Regions from separate parts of the Homo sapiens genome. Here regions 2 and 3 are each linked to region 1. Evidence: promoter capture Hi-C in human tissues and cell types (Jung and others, 2019). All regions are on one chromosome and are shown on one strand. The core of a region is centred on a gene start or on the middle of the fragment in contact, and the rest is flanking DNA. Distances in the headings are between cores, read along the strand shown. Region 1 holds the start of DPH2 (diphthamide biosynthesis 2). Region 2 holds the start of LOC124904165 (a long non-coding RNA gene). Region 3 overlaps PTPRF (protein tyrosine phosphatase receptor type F).

Evidence for each region. The method cuts DNA at HindIII sites, captures the fragments that hold promoters and counts their contacts. A contact is called where the count stands out against the background at its distance.
Region 2: a fragment that was not itself captured here is called in contact with the fragment with the promoter of DPH2 in region 1 in 1 of the 25 tissues and cell types used here (mesenchymal stem cells).
Region 3: a fragment that was not itself captured here is called in contact with the fragment with the promoter of DPH2 in region 1 in 1 of the 25 tissues and cell types used here (dorsolateral prefrontal cortex).

The regions. Positions count from the first base shown.
Region 1 is chr1:43,968,661-43,971,360 of GRCh38, reverse strand. It overlaps DPH2 (diphthamide biosynthesis 2), which reads right to left and starts at 1,351. Exons shown (of 6, transcript NM_001384.5): 1 at 1,039-1,351; 2 at 653-765; 3 at 172-395. The coding sequence starts at 1,185. RefSeq lists enhancers at 1-8, 9-555, 1,041-1,320. The HindIII fragment of the contact is 15,505 bases long and covers 1-2,700 here.
Region 2 is chr1:43,665,317-43,668,016 of GRCh38, reverse strand. It overlaps KDM4A (lysine demethylase 4A), which reads right to left. Exons shown (of 22, transcript NM_014663.3): 6 at 2,272-2,321; 7 at 1,462-1,565; 8 at 926-1,063; 9 at 1-245. LOC124904165 (a long non-coding RNA gene) reads left to right here and starts at 185. Exons shown (of 3, transcript XR_007066050.1): 1 at 185-273; 2 at 905-1,159. RefSeq lists an enhancer at 506-1,705. The HindIII fragment of the contact is 3,337 bases long and covers 1-2,700 here.
Region 3 is chr1:43,565,134-43,567,833 of GRCh38, reverse strand. The region is part of intron 5 of PTPRF (protein tyrosine phosphatase receptor type F); the gene reads right to left. Among named protein-coding and RNA genes, the nearest start is that of PTPRF, 36 kb to the right of the region's middle. RefSeq lists a silencer at 1,946-2,095 and an enhancer at 1,940-2,700. The HindIII fragment of the contact is 5,442 bases long and covers 1-2,700 here.

The sequences.
Region 1 (2,700 bases), core at 102-2,601:
GTTGGAGCCTGGCAAAGCAGGAGCTCCCTCATCCCCAGGAGACTAAATATGACCCAGTAGGCTGGGGCCAAGCCCATATCAAGAGTTCTATGGATGGTATATGGAAATGGGGAAATTAAGGCATAAAGCAGTTGGCTCACCCTTTGTGCATACACAGGCAAAACCCCTTACCCAGGGCATGGGCACAGGCCGGCTCACTCAGCAGCACCACAGGCGCTTTGGGGTCTGGGTTCTGGGCCTCAAAGGCCTTGACACAGAGCTCCAAGGCCACAGAACGTTGACGAAGCACGAAGGCAACGGGCAGTGGGCGGGCTGGAGGGCTTAAGCAGGCAGGGCCAAAATGTATGAGAGCCTGAGCTCCAGCTTGCTCAGCACCCAGCACATCCACGCAGCAGCTGCAGGGAAGATAGCATCAGAGAAATGGGTTCTCTTCTGGAGGCGAGTTGCTGTCATCACTGGGAAATGTGGTCAGTGAATAAAATGGTTTCATTAAAGGAAGACATTGTCAATGAAAGGAGCTAGCATCAGAAGGGGAGTCATTACCATTATCATCAAGGAGAAACACCACCATTGAAGGCAATCACTGTCATAGACGTAAAACCCCATGAGCCCCGGATCCCCAGGCCTGGCCCACCTAAGGCCAAGTTCACACCTGCCGTAGGCTGTGTCACCCAGAATGAACATCTTTGACCCTGTCGTCTCCTCCAGTCGTGCAGCCACAGCCACAGCATCTCCCAATAGCTGGTCAGGGAACTGCAAGGCAACCTATAAGCATAAACCATGGAGTCAGGGACAGCCTCTCTCCCACTGAGGGCTTCTTTAAAGCAATCTTCCAGGAGCTCCCACTCAACCTTCAAAGCCCCTGGTCCCAGAGGGGCACTCTGCCCCACGTAGTAGGTGGAAGGGAGGGATGGTCAACGCGCTGCGGACAGACTGATTCCCCCACCCTCTCGCCCTCACAAAATCCCCCAAGATCCGGATCCTCTGGGCGACCCATCCCGACAGAGGCGAGCCACCCTTCCCTAAGTCTGTCCTCACTCGTTCACACCCCAGGTCGCGGACAAATCCAGCGACTCGCTCCAGCTCGTACACTCCGTCCAGGTCCGGAAGAGGAGTAAGCAGTCCTGGCACCCCGGTCTCTCGCTGCAGCGCCGCCTCGGCAGGGCTGCTAAACATCGACTCCATGAGGCACAGCTTGGGTGGTGGGATGCAGCGGGGACCTCCCTGGGACAGCTTCGGGGCCTGAGTCCTCTAGAGCAGCCCTCAGGGGGTCAAAATCGCCTTGTGGGGGTAGGGGGAATCACAGTCGGCCTTCAGCCGGTGAGTATCCCCTTCAGCCATCCTAACTACTGTTTCTCCGCTACACGTGGGACTACCGGGGAGGTTACTTCCGGGTTTTAGAGGCGTGGCTGATAGCGATTTTGCCAATCCTAAGTCAGCACAGCTCCCGCCCTCCAATCCCCGCCACCGCCCCGCACAGAGAACCAATGTTCAGCCTGAGTCCCAGGCCAGCCGGAAGTACATCGAGGAAGGCGCGGAGCCTTGTGGGCATTGTAGTTCCCCTGGCCTCCTCTCGGGCGCTGGGAGTCCGGTTCAGCCGACCCGCGGCCATCAGGAACACCGACTTCACTGTTAAGCATTTCACGTGCACTCTATCCTCTGGGCAGTATCACTGCATAATTCTTTCATTCATTCATTTTTTTTTTTTTTTGACAAGGTCTCGCTATGTTGCTTGGACTGGAGTGCAGTGGCGCGATCTCCACAACCTTCACCTCCTGGACTGAAGCCATCCTCCCACCTCTGCCTCTTGAGTAGTTGGGGCTACAGGCGCACCACCACATCCAGCTAATTTTTGTATTTTTTGTAGAGACAGGTTTTTGCCATGTTGCTCAGACTGGTCACAAACTCCTGAACTCAAGCAATCCACTCATCTCGGCCTCCCAAAATGCTGAGAGTACAGACGTGAGCCACCGTGCCCGGCTACACTGCATAATTTTAAACTTGGTGCCGACCGGCTCGGGTTTGAATATTGTGCTTGGTCACTTGCTACTGAGTATCTTAGGAATGTCCCTATGCCCATTTCCTTATCTGAAGAATGGGGAGTTGTGACAATAGTACCTCTTAATAAGATTGTTGTGAGGGTCTAATTAATTTATATACAAAACTTTACAAAGTAGTTCTTTGGATATCGCATGCAGTGAAAGCATTTGCTATTTAATCAGCCAAATACTGAGCACTTACTGTACATTAGGCACTTCATTTTTAGTGTTTACAGTCTTTGGAGTAAGAATTATCCCGAGTGGTACCAAGGACATGACTGGCACATCCTCAAGTCACAGGAGATGCTCTGCACAGCTCCAGCCATCCTCAAACACTGCTGCTTCCCAGCAATACCCCCAGTGCATACCACATAGACCTCTACCCTCCAGCCCCTCACATCCCCTCTACTCCCCATGTTTACTTATATGCAAACACCCCCACATGCAACATCACTTGAAATGCCCTCCTTACATACCTCTGTCAGATACGGAAACTGAGGTTCAAAGAGACTACTTGTGTAATAAGACACTAATTCTGTGGCACAACCAGCATCAAACCCGGATCTATTGAACAGGGAAGGAGTGGGATGAATGTGGGAGTAACGAGTTCCCCATCACCCACAAGGAGATTGAAAGCTCAAGGGTAAAAGTGGGGAGAACT
Region 2 (2,700 bases), core at 49-2,548, 300 kb after region 1:
GTCTTCAGGTCTCCTTCCTCTCCATCCTCCACCCCTTCCATGTCCTCCTCTGGGCACTCCTCCTCGTTGCCAGCTCTTGGAGGCAGTTCACTCTCCTTAAGAAACTCAGCTGCTTCTGGCGTGGGCAGAGTATGGTCAATAACTGTGTTGTCCTTCCCAGCTTTCCAAAGTTTGTACCTTTCTGGCTGGAACTTTCTCACAAACACATCCATGGAGATCTTCACCATGTCCTTTCTACAGGAGCACTGTCAGCAGGAACCAGAAGAGCACCAGGTGAGCATACCTTGCTGCTTCCAACTCACCCCCACGTCCTAGCTCCTCCCTCCACATGGAAACAAGTGCAAGATGGTTTATAACCAGATTGTTTTGGTTCACAGGCTGAGGGCATGTTATCCTTGCAGGACCTTCAAACATGAAGGGAAGCAGGGAAAAAAAGGCAGAGAGCACATGCTACTGGGGCAAATCTACCTGGGCACTAACTCGGGGTCACAGAGGGTGGTTAGGCTCTGCACTTAGGCCCCCAGGACGGTGAGCCACCTGCCCTTGTTCCCTGTCCAAGCCAGGAACACACAAGCAAGTCTACTACTATCAGTCAAAGGCCCGACCCTGCTGCTTCCCTAGAGTAAAGGAAACCCCTAAAAATTTCAACAGAGAAATCTCGGAATGGATAAACAAGAGTATTAACGTGTGTGGATGTGGTTTTAATGCCTAATGGACTTAAGAACCTCATTTTATACTTCCCAATTCTGAACACATTTTTAAAAATTCCTTATGAACACAAAATGTTAGTACTCTGACACATTGCTAGCTGCTTGTTTCTGAATTCCAGCAGCTCAAAGAAATACTCTAATCACCAGCCAACGTATCTAACCAGAATTTGCTCATTTTTGTCATGGTGTTATAGAAAGAAATCAAGCAGACTTACCAGCACAGCTTGCTTGCCGTACTCAATCCACCGACGGGTAGCAAAATTGGTAGACTCCGCACAGTTAAAACCATGGTTAAAGCCGGCATGGTAACCATAAGGGAAAGTGATCATAAACTCTCCAGCCTCTTGAGTCACCTGAACAAGAGCAGACTTGAAGCAGCTGCTTCAAATGGCAGAAGTCCACAGAACTGGAATTCTGAGCTCCACCACAACTTAGCTGAGTAACAAAGGGTAAGTCATAAAACCCCTGGGGTCCTTGCTGTCTTCTATAAAATGCAAAGCCCAGACATATCAGATGACATGACTATAATTAACCATTCCTCCAAATGAACACTGTTCTAGGGGATCTGACTCTCCTCTGGCACCAGGAAGCTACAGTGGCCCCACCTTTAATGCTCTTAGATCAAAGTGTTGTTACATAGTTTATTTAAGCTTTGGCCCCCTCTTGGTATAGTGATGAACTAGAATAAAACTGTAAAACAAAGGCCAGAAAGGGTGGTGCCTGAGAACTTTGGCATGTAACATCAGCTCACCTTGTCAAAGGGAATTCCATATTTCTTCAGCATTAACGGGGAAATCAGGGTCATCTTGTGGCGGAGAAATGCCTCACAGCTTTGAGCACTTCCTGGGAAAAAGCCTATTTAATTGAAAGGGTACAGGTTAACACAGTGCTCCACACTAGCTCCGCAATCCTGGAGTCACTTCACACCTGTGCTTCTCATCGGAATGATAAAGAGGATGCATCACCAATGTGACCTCTGAGGATCCTTATAGCTCCGCACCAATTCTAAGATTCTGCAATGAGCCTCTAGGCTCACTCCCATGTAGGGCATTACGTGGGTAATGAAATCCTGTTTGGGAAACCAAGGTCACCCAAGCTGCCTCTGTTCTTATAGAGCTTTGAAACTATTTAGGACCTTTTCTCCAGTCACTTGTATCCCTGATCTTTTTTCAGTAATGCAGCTGTAGTATCATCTACCCAGGCTTTCCTATGTTCTCCAGACATACAAATCTAAGTCCACTTAAAAGAAACAAAGCATAAAGTTCAATTTTTTCTTTAACATTTGGGTCTTTAGTGGAAACACCAGTCATACTGGGTCTGGTTCATTATCGCTGGTCAAAGAAACACCCCTGCTCATTAAAACTGAGGCACAGACAGTCAGGACAAAGGAAGAAAAGGCTCCGTCACTGCCCTCTTAAGGTAACCAGTGTGGCTCACCCCCGTCTGCAGGCCTGCAACAGGACCTGCAAGTATCTGACCATGGGGAACGCACATTTTAGTGCAGAGCAAGGAGCACAGCTCATAGGAGGGTCCAATCCAGCAAACAGAAGAGACACAGTACCTTTGGCGAGGCGTTCCAACCGCTTTCCATGCTCAGGTGGAACAGAGTACCTGCAATCACATGAGAGCATCAGAGGCTGGGTGGAGGGCAGGTACAGAAGCTAAGGGACTTATTCCCACTCTCAAAACACCTTGAAATAGCAGATTTTTTTTTTAACTTCCCAAGCAGTAGAAAGGAATCTGAAAAAATGAAATATTAGACTGTTTGGGCACAGGAGTAAGGAGCCCATAAAGAAGGTGAGTGAATTTATTTCTTCTATATTCATTCACTTAATAAGATGTTTATTAAGTGTTCACCATGAGCCAGGATTTACGGTACATAATATTACTCTCCTTTATAATGTTGTTCATATAATAACATTTTTTAAAAGAAAAAAAAAGAAGGATGTCACTATATAACCTCAGTATTTAAAAATGCTCAGTATTTTTA
Region 3 (2,700 bases), core at 150-2,649, 400 kb after region 1:
GATGGGTGTATGGGAACATGTGCCAAGGGAAGTCAGGCTTCTATGCCAGAGTAAAGGCACATGGCATCCTCAGACATGAAGAAGGTAAAGGCTGGCAGAAACTAGCCCTCCCTGGAGCCTCTTGGAGACCCAGGGAGAGCGACTGGGGGGCGGGTAGAAGAGGGAGTTGGACGAGCCCCAACAGGCAGGAGCAAGATACCTATCTATCTGCTGCCAGTCCCAGGGGATGCTCCCCAAGGCTCTAGCTGCCAGGGACATCCCAAAGGGACTGTGGCCCATGAGGAGCAGAGGTCTCAGGCTAGAGAGCAATAGGATTCCCAGCACGGCCTTGCCGCCCCAGCCTTTCCTGGGACCTGGCTGTACGTTTCCCCACCTGCAGCCCTAGAAGTTCTGGATATAAACCCAGTGTCTCCTTGGCTGTAAATATGATCCCACAGTGCCCTTTCAGATTTTTAAAAGTAAAATGTTCAACAGTGGCAAGAGAAGGGAAGGAGGACGGAAATGAAGAGGACTGAGATGCACCAGGCAGGGGATCAGCCTCCTTTGGCCCAGCTGCTGCTTGCTTCCATAGGAAGGCCTGAGGGGGACCAGAGGTGCAGGGCTCACCTCCCCAACACCTGGGGACACTCGGGGCTGCTAGGGCCATCCTGGGTGCCCTCCAGAGCACCAGTCTAACTCTTTCAAGACCTCATTCCTACCTGCCCAGCTCATGGGGAAGACGTGGCCATGGCCTGCCAGAGTCAGGGCCCAGGAGTCAAGTGGCCTTCATCTCCACCCGCAGATAGGGAAGGGAAGGGAAGTACAAATGTGTGCAGCCCTGTGTCTCGGAATCTACTCTGAATTCCTTACACGAGGAAGGTCTTTGGGATTTACGCCAAATTAAGGACAATTAATTTTCCTCCCTCAATTATCACGCCCTCAGTGGCTCTGTCCTTGGCTCAGATCATCCCTCAGGCACTGCCGCCAGAGCCTAAAACCAGAATGTGTGGAGAGCTGTCCATAAAACAGCGGGACCCAAAAGCCAGTCCCCTGTGCCAACTAGGCTTCTAGGCAGCACTCGGAAGTCTGCCACTCTGCCACCCGGGAAGGGAAGTGGGTCTTACAGGAGGGCTCCAGCCCCTCAGGAGCGACTTGCTGCTGCCTCTTCCTTCTCTCCCATCCAGGCGCCTCTGAACATTCAACTCAGCCAAGTACAGCAGCCCTTTCCTGACGCCCACCATGCGCCTGGCCTGGCTGAGCACTGGGCATCCTGGTGTAAACTGATCTATCAGCCAGACTGGCACACTTACCACCTTCCCCCACGGGCACCCGCGGAAGCTGGGTCTACCGCAGCCTCAACACTCAGGCTGAGGACCTGGGCAACTCCTCAGATGATGTCACATGATCACTCCAAACCCATCAACAACTGGGAAAACTGAGACCCAGGTATGAGGGACAGTAAGATTTATGAAGCATTTACTAGGTTCCAGGTACTATGTTAAAATGCTTTACAAAATGACTTAAATCTTTACCAAACCCTTATGAGGTACATGGGCAACCAGGGGCTGAGAGAGATCTAGACATCTGGACACCTGCCCAAGGTCACACAGCTAAATCGGAGGTGGGGCTGGGAGGAGACCGGGTGGTAGGCCCCCAGCCCCAGCGCTCTAGGCGTGAACACCCCGCGCGCGAGAGGGCCGGCAGCCTCCCCCACACCACGCCTCGGCCGGCACGGCTCAGGCTCCACTGCAGAGCCCCGCACACGCGCCGCGGCGTTTGCATCTACCGCAAAGCGAACCCCAGGGTCCCCCACACGTGGACAGTCGCAAGCACCCACCCATTTTCCAACCCCGGGATGCACCAGTCACGCTGAGTCCCCTCAAATCGCCTCCTGTTGGCGCCGAAGGGGAGGAAGGGCCCCTCCCCGCTCCAGGCCAGCCGGTAGCCATGGCGACGGTGGAGCGGCGGGCGCTGCCGCGGAAGGGCTGCGTGTGCCCGAGTCCGTGCAGGCGCGCGCGTCCGCTGTCCGCCCTGGCACCGCCCTTCCCGCCCCCGCCTGGGTGGAGCCTCTGCGCCCCTTCCCAGGCCCCGGCTCCTCAGCTCCAGGGAATCCTCCCACTAGGCTTTCCCGCTTCACCGACGCGGCCCTCCCCTCCACCCCCAACCGGGTGCCCTGCACAGTGCGGGGAGGGGCCATCTGCCTCCTCAGCCTCAGCGCCGGGGGCGTCTGCACTACGCGTCTCAGGGCCATGGCCTGATAAGAGGGTGCCCTGGACGGAAGGAGAAGCCCATGGGGACTTCAGGGGCCTTCAGAGGTACCCAAGAGCCCGAGTCTCCACACCGTTTGCGGATTCTACCCGCATGCATAGACAACATGCACACACATTCCCTAGGGTCTCCCCGGCTCACGCAGATATGTGTGCAAGGTGGGGAGTGTGCACGTGTGTGTGAATGCCTCCTGCACCTAACTGCGCTGGCCTTTACCCACTGCAGCAAGGAGACCTGTCCCCTTCCGTGGAGAGGTTTGGTTGCCCCATGGGCAGAAGACGATGACAAGCCCTAGCGAGGGGAGGGTCGGGGGTCGATGGTGGGAATCCAAGGTTCAGAAGTGGATGAGCGCTTGGCTAACCTCCCACAGCAGTGTTGGAGCTGATCGGTTTGACTCCACAGCTCACTTGCTATCTTGGTGGCTTCCTGGAGGAGGGAGATTCAAGAACAGGA